Regions from separate parts of the Homo sapiens genome. Here regions 1, 2, 3, 4, 5 and 7 are each linked to region 6. The links are contacts of gene promoters, found by promoter capture Hi-C in blood cells and fetal thymus (Javierre and others, 2016). All regions are on one chromosome and are shown on one strand. The core of a region is centred on a gene start or on the middle of the fragment in contact, and the rest is flanking DNA. Distances in the headings are between cores, read along the strand shown. Region 1 has its middle 220 kb from the start of CCNG2. Region 2 has its middle 200 kb from the start of CCNG2. Region 3 has its middle 180 kb from the start of CCNG2. Region 4 has its middle 180 kb from the start of CXCL13. Region 5 has its middle 150 kb from the start of CCNG2. Region 6 holds the start of SHROOM3 (shroom family member 3). Region 7 has its middle 100 kb from the start of CCNG2.

Region 1 (2,700 bases), core at 193-2,692, 950 kb after region 6:
TCATAGAACCCTGTTTGCGTTATCCTTCTTGTGACTTAGTCTGCATGCTACGCCTGTGGAATTCATAGGCTGATGATTTGAGATAATTTAGCTCTGGTGTTAAACCAGGTTTAGAACCTAGTTACCTGATCTTTTGTGTTTTTCATACACACTAAATTTACATAAGCAGAATATGTATGGATATCTTTTCAGGTCTCACAGAAGATATACCAGTGCAGAGAAAAATGACTGAATTCCAAGCCCCTCACTGATGGGAAGATAGATATTTGGCATCTTCTCTACCCTGACCAGTTTGGTGGCTGTGTGTTGGGATCCTTTCTGGCCTCCCTGAATGTATAAAGCCAGCTCTTGGACTCTATCTAGACCACTGGTAAACCCACAGAGGGCAAGGCTTTTCCTGAATTCAGGAGGTAGAACCAACTTTGGCTTTCAAGACATTTGTCTGCTTGGACTGGACAGGTGAAAGACACACAAATTCCCTCAGTGAGGAGCCAGCACTAGGCAGGAAACAAGGAAAAGAGGATAAAATACGTATCTAGGATGACAAAACACTGGAAGAAATGACTAGAAGTTAGAATGAAGCATGTCACATGTGAGACAAGCCAGCAATGGGCAGAAAACTACTTCAGGGGAATCTAGGTTAGTTTCTCGATACCTAGCATATTGTTCTCAGGAATATCTTTAACCTTCTAGTTGGTTCAATTGCCTCAGTTTCCTTTTATCCTTGAAAGCTTGTATCCAGATGACTATATGCTTTGGTTTAAGGTCTCTGTTTATGATAACTGGTGACCAGAGGGCTCCCCAGGCTTTTTTTTTTTTTTTTTTTTTTTTTTTAATAACAAAGACCATTGTAATGCATGTCAGAGGGGCAGTCAGTGTAGATCTGCCAGTCCTTCTTCAGATTCATTGCTGAATTCCCTGGACACATTGCTTCATGACACATTGCTGGGTTACTTGTAACTCAAAAACATAAGCATGAGGGAGTCGAAGCTGTGGGAGGCATAAAGTACAGAGAGGCCTTGCTGGATGATGAGTGGTCTCTGACACAAAGAGTAGTACAGTTAGAGAAGTGGAAAGACAATGGAACAGGACCCTGAGTCTCCAGGGATGGCAAGTTGTGGGAGAGTAAACACATGGTAGATAAAGCCTAGTAAGTAAAGCTGGATACATTGTTTTAAGGAATGAACTCTCTCTTATCTGCTGCTTCATTGCCTTCTGTTCACAGTCATGTACTTCAGCTTATAGATTTTCTGGGGTGGCATATTATAGTCTCCCATGGTGTGTTAAAACTATGTTTCTTTTCCTTCCCCCATTGTCTTTGATCTCTTCATCTTTATCCTCTTAGCACATTCAAGGCATAGCATATTCTAGGTCTGGGGATGGGAAAGTGCAGGTTGGTAACAGAAGTTCTCCTGAGACTGACATGCATGAAACTAGGTAAACCCAATCCTTTATGTCTGTGGAAAGGGGTTTGCTGTGGACCATACACCATCACCTGATCTAGAAAGTTGCATCAAGAAGTCTTCTAAGAAGGAATGAAATGTGAATCTATAGCCTTAGTGTGACTAGGTCTTGCAGTCATTCTTGCATGTGGTGCCAACATGACGTCCCGAGCTGATATTGTAACCTCAAATCTATTAGTCCCTTCCCCTACTCATCTTTTTTGAAGCCTTGCTGTTTTGTTCACTGCCAATCAAATAAGACTACAATTTGGCCCCCTGTGTTTCAGGAGTACCCTTCATACCTCCACCATGAGCCTCACACATAGTTTTGCTTTCTGTAAGCAGAGGCACAAGTCTCTGACAAACCTGTTTTCTGTCCATTGGTCATCAGAGTAAATTGTTGGCACCAGTTCTGCAAAATGTTGTACCTCATCTTTTCACTTTATTGGTGGGGGGCAAAACATTTGGCAAGTGGGGATTGGTATTTTATGACTTGGTTTTGGACAAACTTTGATTTACTCATTTGAGGAAGATAAACTTTGTCTAGGCTTCTTTAGCTTAACATCTGCAGTTGAAGAAACACTAGGTTCTGTTTTCTCAGGTTCCTCTTTGACTAGAACCAATGTGAAAATCCAATTTTCCTTGAAATTCTTGCTGCTGTGGTTGAGTCTGACATTCAGAAAAAAACAAGTCAGTTAACAATGTTTGGTAGAAGCTTTAAATGAAATGGCAGCAGCATGCACACTGGAGGATTAGCTGAGTGGCATCATGATAAAGAACATATTTTGACAGTTATGTGGGTCCCAGTCAGTCTGAATTCAACAATCCTTTAATCAAAACACATGAATCCTGCACTCTGGTCAGTCTGGGTTCCTCTGGCTGCTTTTGTTCTGGATGTTCATTGATGAGGTGCTCTGTGAGGCATAAATGGAAGCCATAAGTAGAGAGCCTCACCAAGGAAAGTCATGAGTTCACTTGAGTCAAGGGTAGAAAGATACTGCTCATAGTAGAACATAAGAACAGAACTGGGATCCAAAATAATTGGCCCAGAGCAAATGGGAGGTAGTAACTTGACAAATCTTGAAATACTAGGATTGGAAGAGGGTAAGGATTATTGTTTGGAAGAAAGAATTCGTATACCTCAGATATCACATCGATGTGGAGTACAGTTACTATCCATCATGTTAGGGTAATAGAGGAATGGGCCTAGTCATCTCCCTGACTTAGATGGTCTCCCTTTGAATGGAGTAGCCTTCGG
Region 2 (2,700 bases), core at 167-2,666, 920 kb after region 6:
TGTGTAACAGCTGACCGTAAAGAAATTCTGACTTGCCTTGATAAACAGGTCATCAAATGCTCACTCCAGAGGGGTCCTGCTCCCTACCCAGAAAGAAGGAATGCTGTAGAGACCAAGGGAAATAAAACAGACCGGCCTTGCTGGGTTTCCCCACTCAGTCTGTGGGCATTAGGTCATGCCCTTGTCCAATCACAGTTGGACACAGCTGTCCATGCTTCATTAAACCTAAGCAGAAAAATGGTAATAGCAAGTTCTCCCTTTGGGCCTTCACTCTGGCTCCCGTGTCACATACAATTGATAGGAATCTTTTTTGCTTAAAACAGCTGTGTGGAACATACAGCTGTAGATGGAGGCAGGTTTGGGGAGATAATGGGTTAAGCTCAAAGAATGGTCTCAAAGCAAATGACTCCAAGTAGAAGGTGCTTAGAGGACCTCAGTGGGGAACAGATGCTGAAGTGCTGGAGCAGAACAAAGTGCCAGAGTCAGCTGCTTCCTGTGTCAACGGCAAACACCCAAGTGGCTGAGGGCCACAGTAGTGGAGGGTGGCATGTCTTTCAGAAGGACCCATGCTGGAGCAGCATGGTACATTCCCAGAACCAATGTGTCCACACTTATCTCCTGGGTGTAGAAAATACTTTGTGTGAAAGAATAAGTTCATGTCCTAGAGTCTGTTTTCACCATGCATGTGTTTTACTGCACACAAGTTCTATGCAAGTGAGCCTTCCTAGGCCTCTCAGGCTCACTTAGTGTTTCTCTTAATGTGAAGAATATTGGTTATACAGCATAGTAAACAATGAATATGAGATGTGGGGACACAGCAGAGCACACGGCAGCTCACTGATTTTCTTCCCTGCACTTGTGTGCAGCTGAATCTGCTGGTAAACACCCAAAGGGTCATCTCGGTGTATTTTCTATTTGTGTAGTGTCAGATCTAAAAAATCTTGCCGAAGATAATGAATGAGCAGATGGTAACTTCAGATAGCAAAGGAAGTCTATGGCACTTGGGTTCATTACACGGGACATTACATCAACTGGAAAATGCTGTCTGGAGCATTTAAACAGTGTATTATACTAGTCAAGGCAGTTCTCAGAGTTTTGTCTAAGACTTCCTTGGGGTTATGGTCCCTGTTACCATATGTTGAACTTACAGGCAAACAACTACATAAGGTAATTAAGCTCAAGTTTTGGTCTAGGTTTAAAAGTGAGTTCTGACTTGGCAAAGTGTGTTTTTTTTTTTTATCTTACAGGTACATATTCTGCTTACGTAAATTTAACATTGTTTTTTAAGGTCTCATGGATTATGCAGCATCACTTTCTAGCACTCTTCTTTGAGGACTCCACTGGTGTAGAGATGAATATCTCATCCTCCACTTCCCACTACTAGTTGAGTGGCTCAGTGTGGATCCTCCTTGGCATCACTGCATGTACAAAGCCAGTTCTTGGACTCTATATAGGCCATTGAGCCCATAGTGAATGGTACTTTATAATTCAAGGAGGTAAAACAAACTCTGGTTTCTCAGATGTGTATGTATTAGGTTGGATAAATGAACCAGGCAGGAAATGTTCTTGGAAAAGAGCCATACACTAGGCAAGAAACCATCTAGAGGTAAGATCACTGGAATCTAGTGCTATAATAGGCGGGAGAGTTAGGGTGTAACTACAGAAACAAGAGGAATTCATAACCATGACGTGTCAGGGGTGCCAGCATAGGGCAGAACATGCCACTTGAATGTTCCAGAGTTGAAGAAGACTACATGTTTAGGCATCCCAGGCATAGGAGAGAAGACTCATACTCTTCAAAGCCATTTTGCCTGTGTTGCAGGTTGGGCTGTTTAGAAACAGGTTGAAGTGGAATTTGGCATGAAGTATGGTATTTAGAGATCAAATTGTGTCTAAGAGATGGGAAAGCAGGATAGGGCTAACTGTAGTGTGGGGCCCAGAAGTGCCTTGGCCAGTGTCGGCATGCATGTGACCCATCATGGTTGTTCCATGGTGGCCTATCATGGTTGTATCATGGTGGCCTGAGATTGCTGGCCTGCATATGTCTGTAGTCAGCAAGTGGATGAGGGCTGCTAGGGGAAGGGGCATGCCCTTGGAACTGAGGCAAACTCTGTAGAGGTGATGGCTGGAGGCTGCTGGCTGTGCTCCAAGCAGTTGCGGTAACAAGCCCTTGTTGAAGGGGATCTGGTGGTACATTCCCATGCCCTCAATCCAGTGATCTGGTGGAGCTGTCTACCCTCTTTAGTCTCTTGCCTGAGTTCATGTGTGGATATGCTCAGTGTGGCTTTCTTGCTCAGGCCCTACCTTTCCTACTGAGCCCCAGATGAATCTGAGCTCTTTCAGCACTAGATGCTTGACAAGACAGAAGCCATGAAGTGACAAGACTGTGTTCTATTCTGAGACCACTACACGATCACTTCCATTCTTTTAACCTACCTAGGATTAATGTAAGAAGTTACTGTTTATAGGGTCTAAGTGTTCTGAACCGCTTTATGGTACGTCTAGCGGGGGTGGTCTGTATGCCTCTCACATGTCATGTCTATAGCTTGCAAAATTGACCAAATTAGCTTGGCATGCTATATCCATGCCCCAGATGGTTTGGACCACTAGGCAGACTTTCTTTGCTTTGATAATAGATAGGTCCAGGGTTTAAAACTTAAAAAGCTACCCTCTATCTTTATCCTCTGTATTTTGCCTCTC
Region 3 (2,700 bases), core at 11-2,510, 900 kb after region 6:
AGGGTTACATTGTTGGAGTTGAAAATTGGAGGGAGTTCTCTCTCTCTGGTAAAGTGGATGTAAGGCTTTAGGTCAGTGCAATCTCCTCCCGGGGAGGTCCAGCCTTGATACTTGGTGGTCCAGACCAAATCTTCCCAACTAGGACAGAACTTCCAATAACTGCTTTGTGCTTGCTTGGTGCAAGAGTCAGTTTTGTAGGCAGTCTTATTTATCCTGGAATGGCAAGGGTACCTTTCTGAAGAGGCAAGCTTTCTTTGGCTTTGGAGATGTCCACAGGGCATGACAAGACAAGCATCAAAGGTAATGGTTTGAGGAGAGCTAGATCTGGTTACATTGATACTAAAGTGTGACTAGCAATAGAAGGGAAAAAGAAATAAAACATAAGAGGATCAAACCTGTTTTAGCTTTAACTTGGTTGGAGCTGGCCCTGGAATAGCTGTCCATGATTGTGGAGGAGGTGGTCTTCCTTTGACCTGAGTGTGATGAGCCATCCCTTTTTGGTGGTGCAGACAGCTGTTCTTGGTCCTTAGAAGCACTAGATAGGATCCCTCCCAGGTGGGCTCGAGCTTCCCTTCTTTCCAACCCTTGATGAGGACGTTGTCTCCAGGCTGGTGGTGGTGAACTGGAAATTCGAGGGGTGGCCTCTGTGCTAGGAGGCCTTTGGTTCTAAGGGAAGAGAAAGTGGAGGATGGACCAAGTATATAGTTTTTGGGGAATAGATCTTTTGTTTCAAATGTAGGAATGTCAGCAGTGGAGTGTAAACAAAGCAACCCAAACAGCATTTCATAAGGGGTAAGCCAACATCTTTTGGAGGGGCAGTTCAGATTCTCAACAAGACAATGGAAAGGCATTTAATCCACGGTAATTGAATCTCTAGGACTAATTTGGTTAGGTGTTTCTTCAGAGTCTAGTTCATTCTTCTCTTCCTGATGAAGGTGGGTGCCAGGGGATATGGTAGTCCCATGTTATATCCAGTACTTGGGCTAGTTTCTTAATGACATTTGTAGTGAAATGAGTCCTATTATCTGAATCAACATTTTCTATTAATCTGAACCTGGGTATAGTATTTTCAACAAATGTCTTGACTGCATTGTTAGCAGTTGGACTTGAAAAGGGTGAATAGCTTCTACCCAATGAGTAAGGTGATCTACTATCACTAATATTTTAAGTGACCGATTGGGGGCATTTTGGTGTAATCAACTTGGACACTTTGGAATGGTCTTAATCCTGGATTTCTCCCAAGAGGTGGTTTTCTGAGGGTCTGCTTATTAATTTTCTTACATACTAGGCAACTATCTGTAACCTGTCTTGCTAAAGTATAAATTCTTATACATTCCTATAAACCCGGAGGCCTGCAACATATGTAGCTTGAGGTCCCCAAATGAGTCCCTTAATGCAGACGAGAGAGAACTTCTCTCATGAGGAGTTTGGATAACATTTCTCTTTGATCTGGTAACACCCATTTCCCTTATGAATTTTCTTTGTTCCCTATTTTTATCTTTTTCAGCGGGAGAAGAAATGGGGATTGCAGTTGGGGGAGGAAGACAAGGGGCTAAGTGAAAAACAGGCATTTCAGAGGAAGTGGCAGTTTGTTTGGCTATTTGATATGCAAGGTTATTCCCTTGGCCTTCAAAAGCGATACCTTTCTGATGTCTTGGAACATGGACAATAGCTATTTCTTCTGGTAACTGGAAGTTATCTAATACCTGAGTGATTAATTCTTTGTGGACCAGGTCTTGGCCTTTGTTAATAAGACCTCATTCAGTCCAAATTTTTCCAAAGGTGTGAGCTACCCCGAAGGCGTACTTGGAATCAGTGTAAATAGTCTCTTCTTGTTCTGCAAGTGCCTTAAGGCTTGATTTAATGCAAACAATTCACATGTTTGGGCAGACCAATTAATGGGCAGTCTTTCTGACTATTTCAAGGGCTTCCCCATGACTACTGGGTACCCATTATGTCTCTTTTCTTCAATTACTCAGGAAGAGCCATCTATAAGTGCTGCCCCATTTTGAAAGGGGTCTCTCTTAAATCAGGCCTAACTTTTGTATGATAATTAAATCTAAACATTCATGCTCAGGTCTCTTTAGATTTGATTCCCAGTCAGGAAACTTGCTGGGTTAAATGAATTATCAGTTGTTAGGGTTAAATCGTGTCTTTCTAACAGGATAGCTTCATACTTTAAAATTCTTGGTCAGTGAGCCATCTTCCTGCCTTCTGATTCAAGATAGTTCTAACCTGATGGGGCATGCTTACAACTAAGTTTCCCCCAAAGGCAAGCTTTCTGCTTACTTTAGTTAACAAGGTGGTAGCTGTGATGGATTGAATACATTCAGGCCATCCACAGGCTACTGGATCTAAAACTCTCAATAGGAAAACTATGAGTTTCTGGTGACCCTATCTTCTTGGTTAAGTACCCCTAAAGCTACCTCCCTATCTATGCTAACAAAAAAGTGAAATGGCTTCTCTAGGGAAGGCAGAGCTAAAACAGGGGCAGTTATGAGCAGATGTTTTAGTTCCTCAACCTGGTGGATTTCTTCAGAAATCCACAGGAGACGGTCAGACTTTTCCTGGATAAGTTTTAGGTATAAAGTTTTTGTTTTTAGGGCATATGAGTCAATCCATAAGTGGCAATATCCAACTAATCCTAGGATTTTTCCTGAGTTCTTGTTTAGTTTTAGACAAAAGTAAGGACACAATCCC
Region 4 (2,700 bases), core at 96-2,595, 990 kb after region 6:
ATAACCTATAGATAAAGTTATTTATCTGCTACCTTAGAACCTTTTAAACAAAATAAGTGCAGTGGGATTGGCTGAATGCTTATAACAGCCTTGGAGAAAGTTGGGAAAGAAAAGGCTGAGCTTAAGCCTTCAAATTCTAAGCTTAATCTCTGTATAAATAACCTGAACTTTCATATCTGTCCTGAAATGACCCTTTATCTGCTATAGCTGCAGGGTCAAGATTTCCAAAAGTCAAACCCAGAGTATCACATCCAGTGAGTGATTGAATTCCGATGTGAATTGGATTCCCAGCCTCATCAGATGACTTCTGTTTAAGTGAGAGCATTGATTGAAAAGAAATAGGATTCTGAATAGAGAAATTTGGGCAGATTCCAATGAAGCTGGGGACATCAGATTCCTAAATTCTGTGGATTTTCCTTGGCTGGTAAAAACAGCACTTCTACCCCTGCCCAGGGTGGTTAGCTCTCCATTGTCTGAGGTTGTTGCTTTGCAAGGCACCACTGATTCTCCTTAGGGTATATTCCTGGCATCTGTTTCCAGACTTAGACTCATGTTCCAAAAGCTCCTAAAGGGTGAAGTACAAAGTATGACCCATGAGGAGATGCACAATCTCAAAATAGCTGCATGACTTTTCCTTATTTTTATACAGAAATACAGGGAATATGTAGGAATGAATCTTCAGAGAGGGGTCATGATGAAAAGAATATAAAGTTGGATCAAGCTAAATTTATTCATGTGTCCATTAAGCACAGATTCTAGGTTTATTTTAGCTTTAGGGGTTATAAAGTGTTCTGTCTGTTTAAAATGTGGACCCAAAGGTGGCCTACACTAAATGAAGTTGAAATGCTAGACATGTGTGGGCCTCCTCTAGAGGAAGGGTATCAGAAGGCTTAGGGAGGTAGGAATCCTGTAATGGATTTGTCACATAAGACCCTTTTACCTACCCCAGGAGGGTCTAGAGGACCTGCTTTTTATTACTTTGAGAAATTTGAGTGTCCCAGCACCCTTCTAAGAGCTTGGTTGTCATTCTCTGTAGGTCAGAAATTACACTGGGAACTGCTACCATGAAACTGCCACCCTTAAATACAATAGGGATAATGGAATCTTAGGGTAGGAGAAGCTAGGTGGTAGTACTTAAACACCAGAGACAGGCAGGAATAATTAGTGTAAAACCAAAGCAGTAATCAGAATAGACTGACTCGGAGACCCATGCTATTCACTGATTGAACACGATATCCCTAGAAAAGTAATAGAAAAGTAAATTCTTGAACAGCATAAGTAAGAGTTCTAGTAAATGGTCTAACTTGAATCAGCAAAAGTCACAGCCCCTCAATCAATTCCCAAACATCAACTAGTTCAGACCAAGAATCGTTTGAAGGGGAGACTTGGTCTCTTTGAGGAATGATATTGCTGTATGACTAAAAGTTCATACTGTTAATATTTTTTCCAGCCTTCCCCAAAAGGGCTTATCAGTGTGACGATGCACTAGGGAAAGGAAGATAATCAGGCTTCTCAGGGATAACTAGACACTATGAACTGACAGTAACTCCTGTAAACCCAAAATATCACTGCAGTACAGAAGGGAGAGGCTTATGAAGGTCAGGTCATAGAATTTTAGCTAAGGGTCAATTCACAGTGTGGGTCAAGTGGGTCCCCAAACTCATCCTGTGGTTATTCCCCCAGTCTGGAATGTATATTTATAACAGACATACCCAGCAACTAATAGAATCCCCTTGTGTGTTCCCTGACCTGTAGAATGAAGACTTTTTGGTAGCAAAGGCTAAGTGGAAGTCATTAGTACTACCTCTACCTACAAAAACAGTGAACCAAAAGCAGTACCATATTCTAGAGAACAGTGCCAATATCAAGGACTTGAAAGTTGCAGGGATACTGCTTCTTGCCACATTCTTAACTTGCCTATTTGGCTTATGCAGAAGACAGATTCTGGAGAATGACAGTTCAGGATTGTCAAACTTAGTCAAGTGGTGACTCTAGTTACTGTTGAAGATGTGATTTGTTATTCGAGAAAATTAATACAACCTTTTGGTACCTGGTATGCAGCTATTGATTTGGCAAATACATTTTCTATACCTGTTAGTAAAAACCATCAAAAGCAATTTGCTTTCAGCTAGCATGACAATATGTTTTCACGATTCTACCTTAGGGTATCAACTCTATCCCTATGTCATAGTCCACAGATCTTGATTACATTTCCTTTCCATAATATATGCTGGTTAATCATATTAATGATATGCTGATTGGGCCTTGTGATCAGGAAGTAGTAACTAATCTAGACATAGGATTAAGACATTTGCATGACACTAGAAAATAAATGCCACCGAAAATCAAAGGGCATTCACTTAAGTGAAATTTCCAAAGGCCCAGTGGTATGGGGCACCTTAGGTACATCTAAGGCAAAAGTTTATTGCAAATGGCTCCTCCTACTGCCCAAAGAGGCACAATGCCTAATTGGCCTTCTCGGATCTTCGCAGAAACATATCTTACTGAGGTATGCTACTCCAGCTCACTTACCAAGTTACTCAAAGCTATAAGCTTTGAATAGGTCCCAGAACAAGAGAAGGCTCTGCTACCATTCAAGGTGCTTTGCCACTGGCCATATGGCTTAGCAGATCCTGTGGCGATGAAAGTATCAGTGGCAGATAGGGATGCTGTTTGAAGCCTTGAGGAGACCTCCCATAG
Region 5 (2,700 bases), core at 67-2,566, 870 kb after region 6:
GGAAATCTGTTAATACAACATCCTAGAGCACAGGCAGCCAGTGATTCTGAGTGATGAAGGGCCTGATTCCACTTAACTACAGAATTGTCTTGACATTCAAGGGGGAGCTTCCATGAACCATTTCTGGTGCTACAGACTGTGGAATGGAGTATTGATGTTACTTCTCTGGCAAAACTATATTCTATACTTGACTCTCAAATGGATCAACTGTTACATGTGGGTCAGGCTCAGGAAGAAAGGGTTACAGAGCCTTGGCCTGGTGAAAAGTTGGCTAGCACTTGCCAGTCTTTATAAAGCACGGGGAGGTAAAATGCATCTACCCATTCAGCTCAGTAAAGCACTGCTCTTTACTTATAGCAGTCTCCTATTAGAAGCTCTTCCTTCCTATTACCGACATTCAGGAACTCAACTGATCCCAACTGGTAAAAAATCACTCTAGAAATGCACATGAAAGCAAGTCCTGCACCTAAAGGCTAGAAGGCACTTTTGTAGGTCTCTTCACTGGCTTATTTGACCAGATAGGTCAAAAAAAGTTGATCAGGGTATTTGGGCTTTCCTTCCTCTGAAGGAGACACATAGTGACTCTAGGGTGTAGTATCTGAGTCCATAGGACATGGCTATTAACTGATCACTGAGTTCCTCCATGTTTTATGAGATGTGGCTGGCTCTGAGCATCTATTTCTTTTGAATAAAGCAGTCTTGGGAGTGTGTACAGTGATACACAAGCTTGCTTTCACATCTGAATGTACCTGAGTGTGCCTAGTTGAAATTAAAAGCTTTTTCATTGCTGCCTTGTGGCCTCATACATGCAGATGCCAAAAAGGAATTGAATGTTTGAGTTGTGGGAGGAGAAAGTTCTGTGAGGGATACAGGAGAGGAAGCTGGAAAGATCTGGGTGTAGATCCACTTATAATGCAGGTCAGGCCCTGTGAAGGAAAATACTGGATAGGAAGTAGCTTAGACTGAGGTGATACTAAGTGCCTTGGCAAGGCCGATGGCAAATACTAGAGCCCAGATTGCCCATTAGAGGAGTGGTGAGTGTCCTAAATAGGACGGCCTTAGCATCCCAGCTGCACCTGGGCATCAGTTGGAAACGACCACACATGGGATGTATGGCATTCTAATGGCTCCACAGGTGGCCACTGTGCTGCACAGGTACACTTATCTGTACAAGTTGACAGAAGTAACTGTCCCACAGGCTCCTGTTCTTGAGGGGAAACTGAGGAAAGATGGTGGGATGCAATGTGGCTCCTGTGGCTGGAGTTGATCTTGGGTCAGAATTGAAACTCATTCTCTGCCACCTCCTGGTAATTATGCAACAATGCAATTGTTGACATACTCATCACTTTGATCTCTACAAACTGATTCGAGCCTCACTCTTATAATCTGGATGATTCTTCTTGTACCCACGTGTGGGTTTCCAGGCTAGGTCTGCTTGGATTGTATTTCAGTATAAGGCAGAGACTTGGTTAGAAATGAACTGAACATAAGACTGCCTCTATCAGAGGCAGGTACCTAAACATGGAGTTTTAAACGAAGTATAAGGGCCTTTCTGGGTTCTGGGGTCTTGAGTCAGGGTTGGGGGAAAACTAACGAGTTGTTGGTCCTGTGAGAACCCCATACTGAGGCAGGATTGTACATGTAGGAACTTACTGGAAGGCAGCTATGCTTACCAGTGTACCACCTAAGCTGCAAGAACTTATTTCATGTTCTGTCAGCCAACCCACTACCTGGAGTTGCCCCAAAAGCAACAGCTGGGGAGTTCACTCATGGGACTTGCCCACCATCCCAAGATGGGGCCAGCTGGGAATCCAAATGCACTAAATGCCAGGGGGATAAATCTAAAACACCTACCAGGAAGCTTGCTTACAAAATGCAGGGATCCTTGTGGATAGTGAAAGGGTATCTTGGGTATGTCCCCAATGAGTGGGACAGGTTAGTGTTTTGAGTCTTCAGAATTTGACTAGGCATGGGGCTAGCCTTTACGTGTTAATCAACATGCTTGATGCAACAGCCTAAACAAGTTCGTCAGTGCCTGAGAATATTCAAGGACCCTGGCTTTGGTTCAAGCTTGGGAATACATGCAGCTGGCCAAGGTATTCTGTATCTGTTAGTCTGTCTGTTCTTTCTGTTGCAATAGATGCCTGTGAGAAAACAGGAGCTGCAGGAGAGCCTTCATCCCACAAAAAGAGGTTCTCTATAGAAGCCTCATGTGGCAGTGAAGTTACAGAAGAGTTCTGGGTAGACTGGTAAATCTGAATCCAGGTTGATACAGAAGGGTGAAAAAAGCATTATAAACTCACACTGATCCTACACTAGGTTTATGTCCTACAGCAGACACTTTTCCGATGCTGTCTCAACATTTGTTTCCCTATTGTCAGCCAAATGACTGCTGACTTTGTTTTGGAGATTATTTCATATACTGTTTATATCCTTGGTCATTCTCAGCCATAGGTCTGGATGACTTGAGCATATTAGGGCATCCCATTTCCCTGCCTACATTCCCATGACTACCATAGATTGTGAAGGGATGGGCATACTATCAAGATGGGCATGCCACTAAAACCCAAGGTGATACTGCTGGAATTGATTGATAATGTTTCAAGAAGAGCTTTGAAATAAATACCTGAAGTGTAGAGCAAGTCCATCATGATGGGAGAGTCTGGAACTTGCCATCCAGAGGGTTGTAGTGGGGCTCTG
Region 6 (2,700 bases), core at 109-2,608:
AACTGAAATTTTGTATAGCTATGTTACTTTTAATATTAAATGTGGATTCTGTAAAATCCCAGTTTTTACAAAATGTATTAGGAGTAACATAATAAGAGCCTCATAAATTAATTTTTTCAGAAAGAAAGCTGTTCATTTACCTAGGACTTTTATTTAAAATACATATGTTCTTTGAAATGAAAGAAAAGCTAATGTTTCTCCATTTATTCTAACTTACAAATTAAGCTGTAAAAGAAAACCACAATAGAAATTGCGTAAATTACCCTTAAGAATCAGCCAATTTTTACCACATACTTTCATTTGGTACACCTTAGGTTTCCTTATGTTTCCATTCACATACTACCATTACATAAGGTTTTACTTTTTTTTTTTTTTTTTTGTCTTTGAGCCCTTCAAGTGAAGTTACCATTGAAAATCAAACAATACCTGTCCAGTGTTGTAAATTAAATATCGTGTAGTTTGATATCATATACCTGCCTTTCCATATCAGCCTTTCATTAATTATAAGTACAAACACCAAAATAATTGTTATCAAGCCCCACAGTAGTTTTTAACTTCAGTTTTCAACTTAATTCTCATTATCCCATACTTTTAAACAGAAAAAAGTTTTAGTACATATATTACCTGGAAGTAATTCTAATCTGTTCCAATAACTAAATAGCTGAGGCTTCTGGGTTAGATATGGTTATCTTCTACTGTTCAAATTTTTAATACAAAGCATGAATGTTAAATTTGTATATAACATTATTACAAAATGACACTGGTAACATGAAATCAGAACAACATTCTTTCCCGAGTACCTAGTACTTACCCACAAGGCATTGTAGATTTCTTTTCATTTAAAGAGTGGATAACAATCTTGGAGTAGATAACAATGAAAACCTAGAAAAAAAAACCCACCTCCTGTTTTTATTGAGTCAAACAAGCAGAACTTTGATTGGAAAGTCCCATTTCATATATTACACTGGTAGTATTTTCTTCTAACGAAAAAAAAAAAGCCCTTGTGCCACCACCTTGACATGTACTTAAACGTTTACCCAAATCACTTAGGCATTGCTTCTCAAACTTGGCTGCATAGCAGAATTGCCTGGAGGGTTTTTAAAAACACAAATGCCTATGTCTCACTCCCTGAAATTCTCCTTTAATTGGTACGAGGCGGGGCTATTCTAGGAACTATTTTCTATCCCTTGGCAATTAGCCATCTGTATAGTATTTTTAACTTCCTACGTGTTATTAACTGTAAGACTGTTTGAATTGTCAGGTCTTTGTGGTGAGCTGAATTCTGCATGGCAGTGCTTACTGTGCAGAAAGGTTGCAATGCCTCACTTTGCCTTAATCCATGTTCCTCTAACTTCCTTACTCTTTCTCTCAAGAGGAGGCAAGTGGCTGTGGCGGCCGCAGCAGTGGCTGATCATCACTGAAAATACCAAAGAAAAGAACTGAGCTGCCTCCTTCATATTTTTTCCATTGAGGATTAATTTACCGTGCTTTTTCATTTTCTCTACATCCTGCAAAAGTTTTTTTCTCTCCTAAGAAACAAACTATGAACTGATTGTTGAAAAAAAGAAGTAAAAAGTTTTAGCACAGCTTCTCTGTCTCTTCGGGACAAGTTAGAAAATTCTGAAGTGAGCCGAAGCATAGTAAGTGCTTTCTTTCTTTTTAAGCTACTTCTGGGGAGGGAGGAGGCTATTGTAATGGTAAATTTCACTCCGAGAGGAAGAAAGGGTTGATAATCAATCAAAAATGAGGTATTCCTTTGAGTATTTGTGATTTTCTTACTATATTGTAAGATGCTTTTAATTTTCTCTGTAAAATAGGCAGAAATGGTTTTAGTGTGTGTATGTGTGAAATAAAAGCTCAGAAAAGCAATCTTCAGAGCGCCACTGAAGGAAGTTTTGACGAACGGAGTAGAGATGTATACCACTTGGGGGCTTCAGTGAGAACCCAGAATTCCTGGAGGAGGATTTACATTCAGAAATGTTGAAGTGAAAATTCCTTCTGGTTCAGCATCTTGGAGTTCAGCTTGGAAGAACATTTTACGTATGGAAGAATTTGCTTCTCCAAACCTCTCTTTTGGCCATTGTGTGTCCTGAAGGATGGGACAACTTGTGCTGTAGAAGCACTGCTTGCCTGAGTTTGCTTCAGGCATTTTAAATTTAACTTGAGGGATCATGTGTTTGGCATGATGAGGACCACTGAAGACTTCCACAAGCCTAGTGCCACATTAAACTCTAACACGGCCACCAAGGGAAGGTACATTTATCTGGAGGCATTCCTGGAGGGAGGAGCTCCCTGGGGTTTTACTCTAAAGGGTGGCCTGGAGCACGGAGAACCATTAATCATCTCTAAGGTATGTTTCTTTTTCCAATATTGCCTTTATTCAAATTGTTTTTTTCAACTTGTCAGATTTGTCAAAAATGCAAAATAATGAGAACTGCCTTAATATAACTTAATTTGCTGTTTCATGCCTTTCTGATTATCTAGAAATATTTTGGATAGCCTGGGATTTGAAAGAAAAATGTGTCTAGCTCATTTATTCTATGAAATCCGAAGAAAAATATGCCTGTTTGATGGATAATCTTCTCTTTTTGTGAATGAAATCGCATACAATCAGTTACCACATGAGCTTTTCAGTTATAAATCAGATTAAAGATTAATAACATGGTTAAGATGGTGGCATGGTATATATTTGTGCATTCA
Region 7 (2,700 bases), core at 134-2,633, 820 kb after region 6:
GCAGATGAGAATGGGAAAAGGAAACACCTGAAAGGACTTCTACTGCCTGGAATATGTGCCCATGTAAGCATGGAGGCCAGATGGGTAATGTGGGCTGTGTAGGTACTTGAGTAATCATGAAGGGAGGGATCTCCTTTGTGAAGCCTATGATTCCTGGAGTAGCAGCTTCAGGGTAGAATCCATTTTACAGTATATAACAGCACTGTAATGGGCTGGAGTTCTGGGAAGCTGCATGTTAACACAATGTTTAAAGAACTGACCAATATCCCAAATCATGTCAGACCCTTCTTTCTCAAGTGGGACATCAATTGGACTGACCTTCATAGGGATGAGAACTTTCATGCCCTTCAATAGCAGTGTGCCTAATTCTGAGATCTACAAAGGTGTGGCACTTAGAATAGCTAAGCCACAAGGCAAAGTGCAAGACAATAGAGATGACCCAGTGAGTGGGAGATGGCATAGTCCATGTGAGGTGGGAAGCCTCTGAGCTGGCCCCCAGTGATCCTTGACTCCTGGTATTCCAGCTTGTGTTAAGCCCCTTCTCTTGAGAGTAGATATAGTGGCTTGCTGCTTGATGAAGTGACAATGGAAGAAGTGGCAGGTCCCTCCAAATACATGGTTAGATACTAGCTACTGTCTTAGATTTCCTGTATCAGTCCATTTTCATGCTTCTGATGAAGACATACCCAAGACTGGGAAGAAAGAAGTTTTAATGGACTCATAGTTCCATGTGGCTGGGGAGGCCTCACAATCATGGTAGAAGGTGAAATGCATGTCTCACATGGTGGCAGACAAGAGAACTTGTACAAGGAAACTCCCCTTTATAAAACCATCAGATATTATGAGACTTACTCACTATTATGAGAACGGCACAGGAAAGACTTGCCCCCATGATTCAATTACCCCCCACTTGATCCCTCCCACAACACATGGGAATTCAAGATGAGATGTGGGTGGGGACACAACAATACCATATCACTTCCCTTACTCCTTGTCTTAGAACATGTGTTCTAGGAGAACTAAGCTGCTGTGTTTGAGCCACCCCACTGAATGGCCCACATATGATGGCAAGGAGCAGAAACTTGGAGCCCAACAGGCTGAAGAGCTGGAGCTTACCACTGAGTGAGCTTGGAAGCATCGTAGTCCTCCTGATGTCAAGGATATGATCCAAGAACCACTCCCCCCTGGCCACCTTGTAGATGCCTAACCCTATATACACTGTATTTTCTCTGTACATATGCACCTATACACAAAGCATACATACACAAAGCTTAACAGATGAATTGGGCACACTAAGATTAATAAGAAAATAAAACTATAACATACCAGCATCACTACTAGTATACCTTGGGACTTAGGTAAAATAAGGGTTGCTGGAAGACGAACACTACAATGCCACAGAAGTTGACTTAGTAACAAATAATAACTAATGGCTGGGTAGTGTGCTAGGTGTGGATACCCTAGACAAAGGATGACTTAAATCCATGGTGGGTGGAAAAGCTTTTTGATGTGCTGCTGGATTCGGTTTGCCAGTATTCACCATGATCAAGTGGGCTTCATCCCTGGGATGCAAGGCTGGTTCAACATACGCAAATCAACAAATGTAATCCAGCATATAAACAGAACCAACTACAAAAACCACATGATTATCTCAATAGATGCAGAAAAGGCCTTTGACAAAATTCAACAACCCTTCATGCTAAAAACTCTCAATAAATTAGGTACTGATGGGACATATCTCAAAATAATAAGAGCTATCTATGACAAACCCACAGCCAATATCATACTGAATGGGCAAAAACTGGAAGCATTCCCTTTGAAAACTGGCACAAGACAGGGATGCCCTCTCACCACTCCTATTCAACATAGTGTTGGCAGTTCTGGCTAGGGCAATCAGGCAGGAGAAGGAAATAAAGGGTATTCAATTAGGAAAAGAGGAAGTCAAGTTGTCTCTGTTTGCAGATGACATGATTGTATATCTAGAAAACACCATCGTCTTAGCCCAAAATCTCCTTAAGCTGACAGGCATCTTCAGCAAAGTCTCAGGATACAAAACCAAAGTGCAAAAATCACAAGCATTCTTATACATCAATAATAGACAGAGAGCCAAATCATGAGTGAACTCCCATTCACGATTGCTTCAAAGAGAATAAAATACCTAGGAATCCAACTTACAAGGGATGTGAAGGACCTTTTCAAGGAGAACTGCAAACCACTGCTCAATGAAATAAGAGGATATAAACAAATGGAAGAACATTCCATGCTCATGGGTAGGAAGAATCAATATCATGAAAATGGCCATACTGCCCAAGGTAATTTATAGATTCAATGCCATCCCCATCAAGCTACCAATGACTTTCTTCACAGAATTGGAAAAAACTAAAGTTCATATGGAACCAAAAAAGAGCCCAGATTGCCAAGTAAATCCTAAGCCAAAAGAACAAAGCTGGAGGCATCACACTACCTGACTTCAAACTATACCACAAAGCTACAGTAACCAAAACAGCATGGTACTTGTACCAAAGCAGATACAGACCAATGGAACAGAACAGAGCTCTCAGAAATAATGCCACATATCTACAACTATCTGATCTTTGACAAACCTGACAAAAACAAGAAATAAGGAAAGGATTTCCTATTTAACAAGTGGTGCTGGGAAAACTGGCTAGCCATATGTAGAAAGCTGAAACTGGATCCCTT

Evidence for each region. Contacts are between HindIII fragments. The CHiCAGO score rates a contact against its expected background, and 5 or more counts as called.
Region 1: a contact is called between a fragment that was not itself captured here and the fragment with the promoter of SHROOM3 in region 6, in 1 of 17 cell types (total B cells). The highest score is 5.1, in total B cells.
Region 2: a fragment that was not itself captured here is called in contact with the fragment with the promoter of SHROOM3 in region 6 in 7 of 17 cell types (total B cells, naive CD8 T cells, activated CD4 T cells and 4 more); the score reaches 7.3 in total B cells.
Region 3: a contact is called between a fragment that was not itself captured here and the fragment with the promoter of SHROOM3 in region 6, in 1 of 17 cell types (naive CD4 T cells). The highest score is 5.5, in naive CD4 T cells.
Region 4: a contact is called between a fragment that was not itself captured here and the fragment with the promoter of SHROOM3 in region 6, in 1 of 17 cell types (activated CD4 T cells). The highest score is 7.5, in activated CD4 T cells.
Region 5: a contact is called between a fragment that was not itself captured here and the fragment with the promoter of SHROOM3 in region 6, in 2 of 17 cell types (total B cells and naive B cells). The highest score is 7.7, in total B cells.
Region 7: a contact is called between a fragment that was not itself captured here and the fragment with the promoter of SHROOM3 in region 6, in 1 of 17 cell types (total B cells). The highest score is 5.5, in total B cells.

What each region holds. Positions count from the first base shown.
Region 1 is chr4:77,379,675-77,382,374 of GRCh38, forward strand. No RefSeq gene overlaps it. Among named protein-coding and RNA genes, the nearest start is that of CCNG2, 220 kb to the left of the region's middle. The HindIII fragment of the contact is 1,426 bases long and covers 730-2,155 here.
Region 2 is chr4:77,354,251-77,356,950 of GRCh38, forward strand. No RefSeq gene overlaps it. Among named protein-coding and RNA genes, the nearest start is that of CCNG2, 200 kb to the left of the region's middle. The HindIII fragment of the contact is 4,351 bases long and covers 1-2,700 here.
Region 3 is chr4:77,334,721-77,337,420 of GRCh38, forward strand. No RefSeq gene overlaps it. Among named protein-coding and RNA genes, the nearest start is that of CCNG2, 180 kb to the left of the region's middle. The HindIII fragment of the contact is 2,029 bases long and covers 247-2,275 here.
Region 4 is chr4:77,428,596-77,431,295 of GRCh38, forward strand. No RefSeq gene overlaps it. Among named protein-coding and RNA genes, the nearest start is that of CXCL13, 180 kb to the right of the region's middle. The HindIII fragment of the contact is 2,412 bases long and covers 140-2,551 here.
Region 5 is chr4:77,304,656-77,307,355 of GRCh38, forward strand. No RefSeq gene overlaps it. Among named protein-coding and RNA genes, the nearest start is that of CCNG2, 150 kb to the left of the region's middle. The HindIII fragment of the contact is 1,085 bases long and covers 775-1,859 here.
Region 6 is chr4:76,433,871-76,436,570 of GRCh38, forward strand. SHROOM3 (shroom family member 3) reads left to right here and starts at 1,359. Exons shown (of 11, transcript NM_020859.4): 1 at 1,359-2,350. The coding sequence starts at 2,183. The HindIII fragment of the contact is 11,529 bases long and covers 1-2,700 here.
Region 7 is chr4:77,255,867-77,258,566 of GRCh38, forward strand. No RefSeq gene overlaps it. Among named protein-coding and RNA genes, the nearest start is that of CCNG2, 100 kb to the left of the region's middle. The HindIII fragment of the contact is 230 bases long and covers 1,269-1,498 here.